4 separate regions of the Homo sapiens genome follow, and all the other regions are linked to region 3. The links are contacts of gene promoters, found by promoter capture Hi-C in human tissues and cell types (Jung and others, 2019). All regions are on one chromosome and are shown on one strand. Each heading gives the region's core, a stretch centred on a gene start or on the middle of the fragment in contact. The rest is flanking DNA. Distances are from core to core; before and after follow the strand shown.

Region 1 (3,136 bases), core at 128-2,627, 960 kb after region 3:
AAAAATCTTCCTGAGAAACTGCTTTGTGATGTGTGCATTCATCTTACAGAGTTAAACTCTTCATTTTATTGAGCAGTTTGGGAACAGTGTTTTTGTAGAATCTGAGAAGAGATATTTGGGAGTGCTTTTAGGCCTATGGTGAAAAACGAAATATGTTCAGGTAAAAACTAGAAGGAAGCTTTCCGGGAAACAGCTTTGTGATGTGTGCATTCATCTCACAGAGGTAAACTTTTATTTTGATTGAGCAGTTTGGAAACACTGTTTTTGTAGAATCTGGAAAGCGATATTTTGGAGCGCTTTTAGGCCTATGGTGAAAAAGGAAACATCTTCAGATAAAAACTTGAAAGAAGCTTTCTGAGAAACAGCTTTGTGATGATTGCATTCATCTCACAGGATTAAACCTTTCTTTCATTTGAACAGTTTGGAAACACTGTTTTTATAGAATCTGTGAAGGGATATTTGGGAGCACATTGAGGCCTATGGTGAAAAAGGAAATATCTTCAGATGAAAACTTGAAAGAAGCTTTCTGAGAAACAACTTTGTGATGAGTGCATTCATCTCACAGAACTAAACCTTACTTTTGATTGAGCAATTTGGAAACGTGGTTTTTCTAGAGTCTGCAAAGGAATAGTTGGAACGTGTTGAGGCCTAAGTTGGAAAAGGAGATATCTTCAGATGAAAACTAGAAAGAAGCTTTCTGAGAAACTTCTTTTTGATGTGTACATTCTTCTAACAGAAGTACATCTTTCTATTGAATGAGCAGTTTGGTAACACTGTTTTTTCAGAATCTGTGAAGGTATGTTTAGGAACGCATTGAGGCCTAGGGTAGTAAAGGAAATATCCTCAGAAAAAAATGAGAAAGATTTATGAGAAATAGCATTGTGATGTGTGCATTCATCCCACAGAGTTAAACCTTTCTTTTGATTCAGCAGTTTGGAAACACTTTATGTGTAGAATCTGCAATTGGATCTTTGGGAACCCATTGAGGCATTTGGTGAAAAAGGAAATATCTTGAGATAAATACTAGGAAGAAGCCTTCTCAGAAACTGCCTTGTGATTTGTGCATTCTTCTCACAGATTTAAACGTTTATTTTGATTGAGCAGTCTGGAAACACTGTTTGCGTGCAATCAATGAAGGGATATTTGGGAGTGCATTGAGGCCTATGGTGAAAAAGGAAATATCTTCAGATAAATACTAGAAAGAAACTTTCTCAGAAACCACCTTGCAATGTGAGAATTCTTCTTACAGAGTGAAAGCTTTTTTTTTGATTGAGCACTCTGGTAACACTGTTTTTGTAGAACATGTGAAGGGATATTTGGGAATACATTGAGGCCTATCGTGAAAAAGGAAATATCTTCAGATCAAAACTAGAAAGAAGCTTTCTGAGAAACTGCTTTTGATGAGTGCATTCATCTCACAGAAGTACACCTTTCTTTTGATTGAAGTTTGGCAACAGTATTTTTGTAGAAACTGAGAAGGGATATTTGGTAGCACATTGAGGCCTATGGTGAAAAACGAAACATCTTCAGATATAAACTAGAAAGAAGCTTTCTGAGAAACTGCTTTGTGATGACTGCATTCATCTCACAAGGTTAAACCTTTCTTTTGATTGAGCAGTTTGGAAACAAAGTTTTTGCAGAATCTGTAAAGGGATATTTAGGAGCACATTGAGGCCTATGGTGAAAAAGGAAATAACTTCAGATGAAAACTAGAAAGAAGCTTTATTAGAAACTGGTTTGTGATGTGTGCATCCATGTCACAGAGTTAAAATTTTGTTTTGATTGAGCAGTTTGGAAATAATGTTTCGGTAGAATCTGAGAAGGGATATTTGGGAGCATATTGAGGCATATGTTGAGAGAGGAAATATCTTCAGATAAAATCTAGAAAGAAGCATTCTGAGAAACTGCTTTGTGGTGTGTGCATTCATCTCACAGAGTTAAACTTTTTTTTTTGATTGGGCAGTTTGGAAACACTGTTTTTGTAGAATCTGCAATGCAATATTTTGGAGTGCTTTTAGGGGTATGGTGAAAAAGGAATATCTTCAGATAAAAACTAGAAAGAAACTTTCTGAGAAACAGCTTTGGGATGAGTGCATTCATCTCACAGAGTTAAACCTTTCTTTTGATCAAGCAGTTTGGAAACACTGTTTTTATAGAATCTGCAAAGGGATATTTGGGAATGCATTGAGGCCTGTGGTGAGAAAGGAAATAGCTTCAGATGAAAACTAGAAAGAAGATTTATGAGAAACTGCTTTGTGAAGAGTGCATTCATCTCACAGACTTAAACCTTTTTTTGATTGAGGAGTTTGGAAACGGAGTTTTTGTAGAATCTATGGAGGGATATTTGGGAATGAATTGAGGTCTATGGTGAAAAAGGAAATACCTTCACATATAAACTAGAGAGAAGCTTTCTGAGAAACTGCTTTGTGATGTGTGCATTCATCTCACAGAGGTAAACGTTTCTTTTCATTGAGCAGTTTGGAAACTCTGTTCTTCTAGAATCTGCAAAGGGATATTTATGAGCTTTTTGAGGCCTAAGTTGGGAAAGCAGATATCTTCAGATGAAAACTAGAAAGAAACTTTCTGAGAAACTGCTTTTTGATGTGTGCATTCTTCTAAGAGAATTAAACCTTTGTATTGAATGAGCAGTTTGGCAACACTGTTTTTGCAGAATCTGTGAAGATATATTTAGGAACACATTGAGGGCTATGGTGAAAAAGGAAATATCTTCAGAAAAAAATGAGAAAGATTTCTTAGAAATAGCATTGTGATGTGTGCATTCATTCAACAGAGTTAAATCATTCTTTAATTGAACAGTTTGGAAACACTGTTTTTGTAGAATCTGTGAAGGGATATTTCGGAGCCCATTGAGACCTTTGGTGAAAAAGGAAATATCTTCAAATAAAAGCTAGAAAGAAGCTTTCCAAGAAACTGCTTTTCGATGTGTGCATTCATCTCACAGAGTAAAACCTTTCTTTTGATAGAGCAGTTTGGAAAAACTGTTTTTGTAGAATCTGCAAAGGGATACTTGGGGGAGCATTGGGGTCTATGGTGAAAAAGGAAACATCCTCAGATGTAAACTAGAAAGAAGCTTTCTGAGAAGCTTTTTTGTGATGTGTGCTTTCATCTCACAGAG
Region 2 (3,220 bases), core at 612-3,111, 710 kb after region 3:
TTTAGATTGAGAATGTACAGAAAACCAATAGGAGGCATTTTCTGCATTGTGAGATGTCAACATAGACATTTTAGATCCCTCCTTTGAGAGTGTGGCTCTTTGACCTTTTCACATCTTGTGTTTTCACCTGCTACAGTTATGTGAGAGGCTCCAGGTGTAAATAGAATCTGATGGCAGAATCTCTTAAGTGTAAAGAAGCATCTTAGGAGTGAGAGATCAAGGCCACAAAGTAGCCAGAGCTCTGAGCACAAGTATACTTACCTGGAAAATATGATATTAGAGTATTCTTGCACTTCTACATACCAAAAAGCTAGCTAATCAGGACAGGTGATCCAGGTTCTGCAGCTCCACCAGGGTACTTCCATTTTCTATTTAGAATCAGCCTGAGTCTCTCCTGCTGGCTTGCTATTGAACCATCAGTCCAGGGTCACTGGAAATGCTCTCACAATCACCTAGGTGTCTTTGAGACATTTGAGAATCTCCAGAACAGAATTGTGTCAGGCTGACAAGAGTGGGCAATTTTGCTTCTGTCTTAGTGTAAATGAAATGAGTCATCCTGTGATTGTTCCTCCCCTCATGCAAGAGCTGTCTTCGGTTGGTACCCAGATGAGAGTTTCTCCAGTTCCCTGGTACTTGGGTAAAAACAAGGAGGAGGTCTGCAGACTCAAAGAGATAAACTAATTGCTTCTATTTCATATAGTCATTAGAAAAATAGATGACGCAGTCATGGTCCCTACCATGCAGGAACTTTTAGTCTAGACTAGCAACTGGATAAATGATTTAATTATGCATCATATGGTGGGTACAATAAATAGATGTGTGCAAAAATATGGGCTTTATTTGGGCCATTTTCTTTATATTGTGACTTCAGATGTCTATACCTGAACATATATTAATAAACAAAATTTGTTTTTTTTTTTTTTTGCCTTGCTAAGTAAACTTATTTATCTTCTAAATTATTCTAGAAAACCTTAAGGGATTTGTTTAAATTGCTTATTAGTATGTGATATGAAATTAGAGGGCAATGGGGCTAAAAAAGATTAAAATTACACAAACTCTGAGATTTAAGTTTTTTTTTTTTCTTTTAGGTAAGCTTAAAAAAAGAAACATAAAAAAAAAATACTCCCCAGTGGTGTAAAGAACAGAATTTTACATCAACTCTACACCCTGCTTCAGCCCTGTTTAGATTCACCCTTTTTGAAGGCCTTATTTAAGTCTTGCCCTACCCTGGAGTTTTGCCTCACAGAACTAACTAGAAGAGATCAGAGTTTTGGGTGATGAATCCTGTTGCCTTTTTAGAGTTGGTGCTCACACTTTTCTGAAACCCAATAGCAGATAAATGGAAAAATAACATGTATTATAGGGTCTTAATTTAATAATTTTATATTAAAACCAGTGTTTACAGAGACATTCCATTTAGCAACTTGTTTTCTGTTCCTGCAGATATAGTAGTTGATTCACAAGTCACAAAATAGCAAATATAAATACAATAAAAATTCATCTACATTTCATTAAACTCTATCTGTGTCCTTCTCATCTGTCTGTATTTAGATTTTATTCCATGCATTTTAAAAAACTCAATGATAAACAGAAGAGGAAATAAAAATGCTGGGTCTTTATTCTAAATCCTTGGATTTATTGGACACTTAGTATCAACTCACAGGGTATTATTAGAATCAAATAATGTGCTATCACAGTGCTCTGTAACATCCTGTTGATCACATAGTACCTGCTTAATAAACATTGCATTAATACATGTGCACATGTTGTTTTCCAAATGCAGACTTACTCAGAAAATTGCTGCTTTCTGTTTTCTCTGTAAACTTTAAAGAGCCAGAAAATAATATGATACTTTAAGATAGAGAATGGTTGTCTTCATTTGCATCAGAAGTATTTGTGTTTTTACAAAAGTGCTGAGTGTAAGGGGCTCTGTGCTGTACCTCATTTTTCTAACTAATGCTAACAATGAGCCCAGAGAGAGTGACACCAGCATTGACAGAAGACTTGTTTAGAACACCCATTTATGGACCATTTCCAAACCTGCAGAATCGCATTACATAGAGTGGGGCCAATTTTACAAAGCGATTCATAAGCTCATTAAAGCTTGAGTGATAATGCTTAGGTAAGTGGTTATAAGATCAGGCTTCTAATTAGAATCACATGGCCAATATGCAGAACTCTCTTTACTTGTGCCCTTTTCACAGTTTCTGTTCTGGGTGAAAGCGTCTATTTGTTTTAATTAAGTGCCTCATGTGACTCTCAGGTGCCAGCATCAAATATGAGGAGTTCAAGATACATTCATTGAGTTAAGTTCCACTTTTGCACTAAAGAATGTTCTAGGAATCTGTTCTGTTTGAGTTTGGTAAGGATAGGACAGTGTGGCCAATATTTCTTTCCTTTTCTTTTTCTTTCTTTTTTTTTTTGAGATGGAGTCTCGCTCTGTCATCCAGGCTGGAGTCAATGGCACAATCTCGGCTCACTGCAACCTCTGCCTCCCGGGTTCAAGTGATTCTCCTGCCTCAGCCTCCTGAGTAGCTGCGATTACAGGTGCCTGCCACCATTCCCAGCTAAGTTTTGTATGTTAGGTAGAGGTGGGGTTTCACTCTGTTGGCCAGGCTGATCTTGAACTCCTGACTTCAGGTGATCCACCTGCCTTGGCCTCCCAAAGTGTTGGGATCACAGGCGTGAGACACCACACCCAGCCAACTTTTGTATTTTTAGTAGAGATGGGGTTTCACCATGTTGGCCAGGCTGCTGTTGAACTCCAGACTTCGTGATCCACCTGCCTTGGCCTCCCAAAGTGCTGGGATTCGATATTTCTATTACTGTAGCAGAAATTCCTGGTGTTTGTAACAGGGGAGGGCGCCTGGGGACAAAAAGAAGAGAAACTTATATTTTTCTCTCTGTGGAGCAGCTCATTGTTCCTGAATCTTTTTTGTTGTAAAGGACAGAAATGGGTAGAGTTTTTGTGTCTTGAGCCTTCTGACTTTGAGTGTGGTGGTAACAGGTGAACATGTGCTCAAATTTTTAAAGGCATATTGTCAAGATGCAGGTGTAATTAGTCCAGAATATCTCATCTGAGAAAGAATTCTAGAGGAGGAGGAGAGAGAAAAAGTGACTTTTTTTTTCAGCTAAACGTGTCCCAGATCAAGAGCTGTGTCTACTCTGCTTTCTGGAATGCCTTGCATTTAGTACTTGCAAATCTTCACTTCTATACCTG
Region 3 (3,465 bases), core at 947-3,446:
CTTTAAAAAAAAGTGCACCAGGAAATGCCTCTCAGCCTCAGGGCATCCACGTCCACACTTGAGAAGCTAAACTCAATACCTCAGGTTGTCCTATGAGAGAATATGACCCAGAAGCTGATATTCACTAGACACTCTAGCACACATAGCCATGGTGGGTATCTTGGTTTATCCCCATACAGTACTGAAATCTAGGTCCAAGAAAAAACTGAAGGGTGACTGAAGACACATCACCCTATACAGTTTCCAAAAGGAAAACCTGACCCAAAAACATTCTGGTAAGATAGCTGCGTCTAGGGAAAATAGACGAAAAAAACGCACAGAGATATTTTACCATACAGTGTCAGGAGATTATTCTTTGCTTTCTTCTCACAGGGAGTATTTACCAAAAAAAACAAATCTTTTTAAATGTGCCATCAAATGCTTTGTCAAAAAAAAAATTAATTGGCCAGATGCGGTGGCTCACGTCTGTAATCCCAGCTCTTTGGGAGGCCGAAGTGGGCAGACCAGCTGAGGCCAGGAGTTCGAGACCAGCCTGGCCAACATAGTGAAACCCTGTCTGTACTAAAAATACAAAAATTAGCCAGACGTGGTCGTGGGCACCTGTAAGTCCAGCTACTTGGGAGACTGAGAGAGGAGAATCATTTGAGCCCAGTAGGCGGAGGTTGTAGTGAGCCTAGTGCGTCACTGCACTCCAGCCTGGGTGACAGAGCAAGGCTCTGTCTCAAAAATTAAAAATAAAAATGATTAAAATCGGTATCAAAATGTACACTACAGGACAAATAGTTGATAAAGTGAATTAGGGAGGGGAAATTGGCATTTGGGAATGTCAGACGAAACTGGAAATTTAGTATTTTACTGCAAGCCAGAGTTAGGCTGGAGGAACAGGGGATGAGGGGTGGACTTGAGGCCCTGCTTGAGACACATGTAAAAAATTCAGGGAAAAATCGTCCCCTTTTGAGTGTGAGAAAAATTAAGTGGCAGGCAATTAGATTGAGGTGGCTCTAGTCCTCGGATTTCTACTTCTAAAAATAAAAATCTAAACTCAAGAGCATTTTTTGGTAAATTACTACATTGGCAGAAGCAAAATTTAGGCTTAAGCAACTATAAACTGCCAATTAAGCTCTGATTACATAAGAAGGATATTTCCACCTAGATTGTAAAAATTAAGAAACTAGGCCAGGTGCGGTGGTTCACGCCTGTAATTCCAGCACTTTCGGAGGCCAAGGTGGGTGGATCACCTAAGGTCAGGAGTTCCAGACCAGCCTGGCCAACAAGGTGAAACCCCGTCTCTCCGAAAAATAAAAAAATTGGCCTGGTGTGGTGGCAGGCGCCTGTAATCCCAGCTACTAGGGCTGAGGCAGGAGAATCGCTTGAACCCGGAAGGCAGAGGTTGCGGTGAGCCGAGATCACGCCACTGCACTCCAGCCCGCGCGAGAGAGCAAAACTCCTTTTCAAAAAACAAAACAAAACAAAACCTACATAACTGTACCTAGCAAATTACTGAATTTGGTTTTCTTTACCATGAACCTTATAAAAATATCTCCTTCAAGGCCTTTCATAGACCACAAATTACAAACCATAGCTGGGTGCTCTACAATGTTTGAATCACTCTTTGATTAAATTATTTAATCTTTTCGCGGTGACGCCCATAAATTTTTAATAGAAAAAAAGAGGCCCTGGGAACCCCACGGACTAAAGTGCTTCCTATTCATGAGCCAGCACCTCCAGTCAGGATTCTCCCCTGACGACCCTCCCGTGATCCCTGCACAATCTGGGAGAGACGCGGCGCTGCGGGAGCAGAGCTGCCCAGAGAGGGCTCCAGGCCAGGACACAGTCACTGGGCAGGGAAGAGACAGGACGCCCGGAGCCCGCCTGTCAACGCAGCCGCCATCTTATCGCTGAAGGGGACTGAGGCCGAGCTGGGCAAGGAGAACCCGGGCACGGATTGTGGAGCTGACTGAAGGAAGGCCTGAGGCTCGCCACAGCCGCATCCCACCGGTTTCAACGAGCCCCGTTCCCTCTCTCGGGACGTCGCACCTGGCAGTCTCACCATTTCTAGGCTTCCAGGGGTTCCTGGCATCTTAGCTGTGGCTCTCCAATACCTGCAGGTCACAGGGCCACACAGGCTGGGCCTCCTGGAGCAGAGGACACAGAGCAGTGAAGTCGAGACCTGGAAACTCCGGCGGCAGCGAGAGACAAAGGCCCAGCCACATCCCGGAAGCCGCCCTGTCCGCTCCAGCTTTGTGCCTGATTGGACAGTTCCCAGCCCAGCGTCCCTGATTAGATAACGTTTAAGGCCCCGCCTTCTCAGGCCCTGAGTGACAGAAGATGTGATCAGACACTGGGCTGAATGAAGAAAGAGTGACAGCGTAGGCTGCAGCCTTTTCAGGCAGGGCTTCCTCAGCTCAGCCAGGCCCACCTCAGAGCATGGGAAAATCCTCTCTCTTCTTTGCTCTCTTTCAATGTATTCAAAATGTGAACAAAAATATTTGATGTATATTAATAATACATAAAATTTTTGTTCCAGAGAAAATCAACTTTTACTTTATTGTGTATTATCAATAATAAAGCTAATTTGATAAAACATTGTAAGTCTCTCAGCCGGGCGCCGTGGCTCACACCTGTAATCCCAACACTTTGGGAGGCCGAGGCAGGTGGATCTCCTGAGGTCAGGAGTCCGAGACCAGTCTGGCTAACATGGTGAAACCCCATCTCTACTAAAAATACAAAATTATTGAGCATGGTGGTGCGTGCCTGTAATCCCAACTACTCGGGAGGCTGAGGCAGGAGAATTGCTAGAACCCGGGAGGCCAAGGTTGCAGTAAGCCTAGATCGCGCCAATACATTCCAGACTGAACAATAAGAGTGAAATTCCATTTCAAAAAAATGAAAAATAAAATATAAAAATTAGCTGAGCATGGTGGCACACGTCTGTAATCCCAGCTACTCCGGAGGCTGAGGCAGGAGAATCGCCTGAACCCGGGAGGCGGAGGTTGTAGTGAGTTGAGATCATGCCACTGCACCCCAGCAAAAAATAAAAATAAAAATACATTAAAATTTTTTTGACCTCTCTAGATTTTTATACATATTTTATGATCTCTTATAATTTTTTAATTTTTTTTTTTTGAGACTGAGTCTTGCTCTGTGGCCCAGGCTGAAGTCCAGCGGCACGATCTCGGCTCACTGCAACCTCTGCCTTTCAGGTCCAAGGGATTCTCCTCCCTCAGCCTCTGGAGTAGCTGGGATGACAGGTGCACCACCACACCTGACTAATTTTTTGTATTTTTAGTAGAGATGCGGTTTCACCATGTTGGCCAGGCTGGTCTCGAACTCCTGGCCTCAGGTGATCCACCTGCCTTAGCCTCCCAAAGTAGTGGGATTACATGGGTAAGCCATGATGCCGGTCCATTGTTTAACTTTTTATATTTCATTTTAATCTACATTATTTTTACTTTTTCAATTTGA
Region 4 (3,402 bases), core at 158-2,657, 760 kb after region 3:
TTTGCTCGTTAGTTGATGCAGTGTCTTTGTAGCTTCGACAGTCTTTACAATTTGGTGTGATTTTGCAGTGGCTGATACCGGTTTTTCCTTTCCATGTTTAGTGCTTCCTTCAGGAGCTCTTTTAGGGCAGGCCTGGTGGTGACAAAATCTCTCAGCATTTGCTTGTCTGTAAAGTGTTTTATTTCTCCTTCACTTATGAAGCTTAGTTTGGGTGGATATGAAATTCTGGGTTGAAAATTCTTTTCTTTAAGAATGTTGAATATTGGCTCCCACTCTCTTCTGGCTTGTAGAGTTTCTGCTGACAGGTCCGCTGTTAGTCTGATGGGCTTCCCTTTGTGGCTAATCTGACCTTTCTCTCTGGCTGTCCTTAACATTTTTTCCTTCATTTCAATTTTGGTGAATCTGACAATTATGTGTCTTGGAGTTGCTCTTTTTGAGGAGTATCTTTGTGGCGTTCTCTGTATTTCCTGAATCTGAATGTTGGCCTGCCTTACTTGATTGGGGAAGTTCTCCTGGATAATATCCTGCAGAGTGTTTTCCAACTTGGTTCCATTCTCCCCGTCACTTTCAGGTACACCAATCAGACGTAGATTTGGCCTTTTCACATAGTCCCATATTTCTTGGAGGCTTTTTTCATTTCTTTTTATTCTTTTTTCTCTAAACTTCCCTTCTCGCTTCATTTCATTCATTTCATCTTCCATCACTGATACCCTTTCTTCCAGTTGATTGCATTGGTTCCTGAGGCTTCTGCATTCTTCACGTAGTTCTGGAGCCTTGGCTTTCAGCTGCATCAGCTCCTTTAAGCAGTTCTCTGTATTGGTTATTCTAGTTGTACATTCGTCTAAATTTTTTTCAAAGTTTTTAACTTCTTTGCCTTTGGTTTGAATTTCCTCCTGTAGCTGAGAGTAGTTTGATCATCTGAAGCCTTCTTCTCTCAACTCCTGAAAGTCATTCTCTGTCCAGCTTTGTTTCATTGCTGGTGAGGAACTGCGTTCCTTTGGAGGAGGAGAGGCCCTCTGCTTTTTAGAGTTTCCAGTTTTTCTGCTCTGTTTTTTCTGCATCTTTGTGGTTTTATCTTCTTTTGGTCTTTGATGATGGTGTTGTACATATGGGTTTTTGGTGTGTATGTCCTTTCTGCTTGTTAGTTTTCCTTCTAACAGGCAGGACCCTCAGCTGCAGATCTGTTGGAGTTTTCTAGAGGTTCACTCCAGACCCTTTTTGCCTGGGTATCAGCAGCGATGGCTGCAGAACAGCTGATTTTTGTGAACCGCGAATGCTACTGTCTGATCGTTCTTCTGGAAATTTTGTCTCAGAGGAGTACCCGGCTGTGTGAGGTGTCAGTCTGCCCCTACTGGGGGGTGCCTCCCAGTTAGGCTGCTTGGGGTTCAGGGGTCAGGAACCCACTTGAGGAGGCAGTCTGCCTGTTCTCAGATCTCCAGCTGTGTGCTGGGAGAACCACTGCTCTCTTCAAAGCTGTCAGACAGGGATATTTAAGTCTGCAGAAGTTACTGCTGTCTTTTTGTTTGTCTGTGCCCTGCCCCTAGAGGTGGAGTCTACAGAGGCAGGCAGGCCTCCTTGAGCTTTGGTGGGCTCCACCCAGTTGGAGCTTCCCATCTGCTTTGTTTACCTAAGCAAGCCTGGGCAATGGCAGGCGCCCCTCCCCCAGCCTCGCTGCCACCTTGCAGTTTGATCTCAGACTGCTGTGCTAGCAATCAGCGAGGCTCCATGGGCGTAGGACCCTCCGAGCCAGGTGCAGGATATAATCTGCTGGTGTGACATTTTTAAGCCTGTTGGAAAAGCACAGTATTAGAGTGGGAGTGACCCGACTTTCCAGGTGCCATCTGTCACCCCTTTCTTTGACTTGGAAAGGGAAGTCCCTGACCCCTTGTGCTTCCTGAGTGAGGCAATGCCTCACCCTGCTTCAGCTCGCACATGGTGTGCTGAACCCACTGTCCTGCGCCCACTGTCTGGCACTCTCTAGTGAGGTGAACTCAGTACCTCAGATGGAAATGCAGAAATCACCTGTCTTCTGCGTCACTCATGCTGGGAGCTGTAGTCCAGAGCTCTTCCTATTTGGCCTTCTCAGCTGCCCGCCTCAGCTGTGTAAACTTTCAAACCTGATCCAACCAATGTTTGGGCCCTATGTAAACCAGCCACCTGCTCCTGAAGCCAGTGTGTAAAATCCATTGCGCTTCACTGCAGGCTGGAAGTCCCACTGAGAGGCACTGCTCTTTCTCAGAAGAGAAGACTATTCTCCTTTCTCTTTCTTTTGCCTATTAAACCACTGCTCCTAAACCATCTTCTTGTGTGTCCATGCACTGATTTCCTTGGCATTAGATGACGAACCTCGGGTCTTTACCCCACACAGGTGATGCCACTTCAGTATGTTAAAACTCATTAATTTATTAGTTAAAATTGCTTTATTAATAAATATAGCACTTTTTTTTTTTGAGACGGAGTCTCACTCTGTCACCCAGGCTGGAGTGCAGTGACGTGATCTCAGCTTACTGCAACCTCCACCTCCCTGGTTCAAGCGATTCTACTGTCTCGGCCTCCTGAGTAGCTGGGAGTACAGGCGTGTGCCGCCACGTCCGGCTAATGTTTTCTATTTTTAGTAGAGACAGGGTTTCATCGTGTTAGCCAGGATGGTCTTGATCTCCTGACCTTGTAATCCACCTGACTTGACCTCCCAAAGTGCTGGGATTGCAGGCGGGAGACACCACGCATGGCAAAATATAGCACATTTTAAAGACCACTGATGCACAGTGCAAAAACTGCCATATATGAATATGACATCAAATTATACTTCCAGTAACAGTGTTAGGAAAGGTCTTGTTACCCTACACTAACTATTTATGAATAGTTTAATGGAATATGCTGTTTTAAAAAATATTTTCCATTTTGGTATGTGAAAAAATGGCATCTCATTATTTATTTATTTATTTATTTATTTATTTATTTATTTATTTATTTTTGAGATAGAGTCTCGCTCTGTTGGCCAGGCTGGAGTGCAGTGGCATGATCTTGGCTCACTGAAACCTCTGTCTCCCGGGCTCAAGCAATTCTCCTGTCTCAGCATCCCTAGTAGCTGTGATTATAGGTGTGTGCCACCACGCCTGGCCAATTTTTGTATTTCTAGTAGAGACAGGTTTACATCATTTTGGCCAGGGTAGTCTCAAATTCCTGACCTTGGCCTCCCAAAGTACTGGGATTACAGGTATGAGCCACCGCGCTTGGTGACATCTCATTATTTTAATATGAATTTTAGTAACTATTAGGTAACTTGTTTTTATATATGTTTAGTGTACTACTTTTTGAATTGCCTAGTCATGGCTTCTGCTTATTTTGCTATTAAATTATTTAACTTTTTACTGATTTATATAAGCTTTTGCTATCCACATT

What was found. Contacts are between HindIII fragments. The study calls those that stand out against the background at their distance.
Region 1: a fragment that was not itself captured here is called in contact with the fragment with the promoter of ZNF91 in region 3 in 2 of the 25 tissues and cell types used here (aorta and mesenchymal stem cells).
Region 2: a fragment that was not itself captured here is called in contact with the fragment with the promoter of ZNF91 in region 3 in 3 of the 25 tissues and cell types used here (aorta, dorsolateral prefrontal cortex and thymus).
Region 4: a contact is called between a fragment that was not itself captured here and the fragment with the promoter of ZNF91 in region 3, in 2 of the 25 tissues and cell types used here (adrenal gland and spleen).

The regions. Positions count from the first base shown.
Region 1 is chr19:24,352,028-24,355,163 of GRCh38, forward strand. No RefSeq gene overlaps it. Among named protein-coding and RNA genes, the nearest start is that of LINC03085, 210 kb to the left of the region's middle. The HindIII fragment of the contact is 3,256 bases long and covers 1-3,005 here.
Region 2 is chr19:24,101,321-24,104,540 of GRCh38, forward strand. The region is part of intron 1 of ZNF254 (zinc finger protein 254); the gene reads left to right. Among named protein-coding and RNA genes, the nearest start is that of ZNF254, 16 kb to the left of the region's middle. The HindIII fragment of the contact is 3,167 bases long and covers 279-3,220 here.
Region 3 is chr19:23,393,275-23,396,739 of GRCh38, forward strand. ZNF91 (zinc finger protein 91) reads right to left here and starts at 2,197. Exons shown (of 4, transcript NM_003430.4): 1 at 2,051-2,197. The coding sequence starts at 2,080. RefSeq lists an enhancer at 1,599-2,467. The HindIII fragment of the contact is 10,945 bases long and covers 1-3,465 here.
Region 4 is chr19:24,151,609-24,155,010 of GRCh38, forward strand. No RefSeq gene overlaps it. Among named protein-coding and RNA genes, the nearest start is that of LINC03085, 6.8 kb to the left of the region's middle. The HindIII fragment of the contact is 4,330 bases long and covers 1-3,402 here.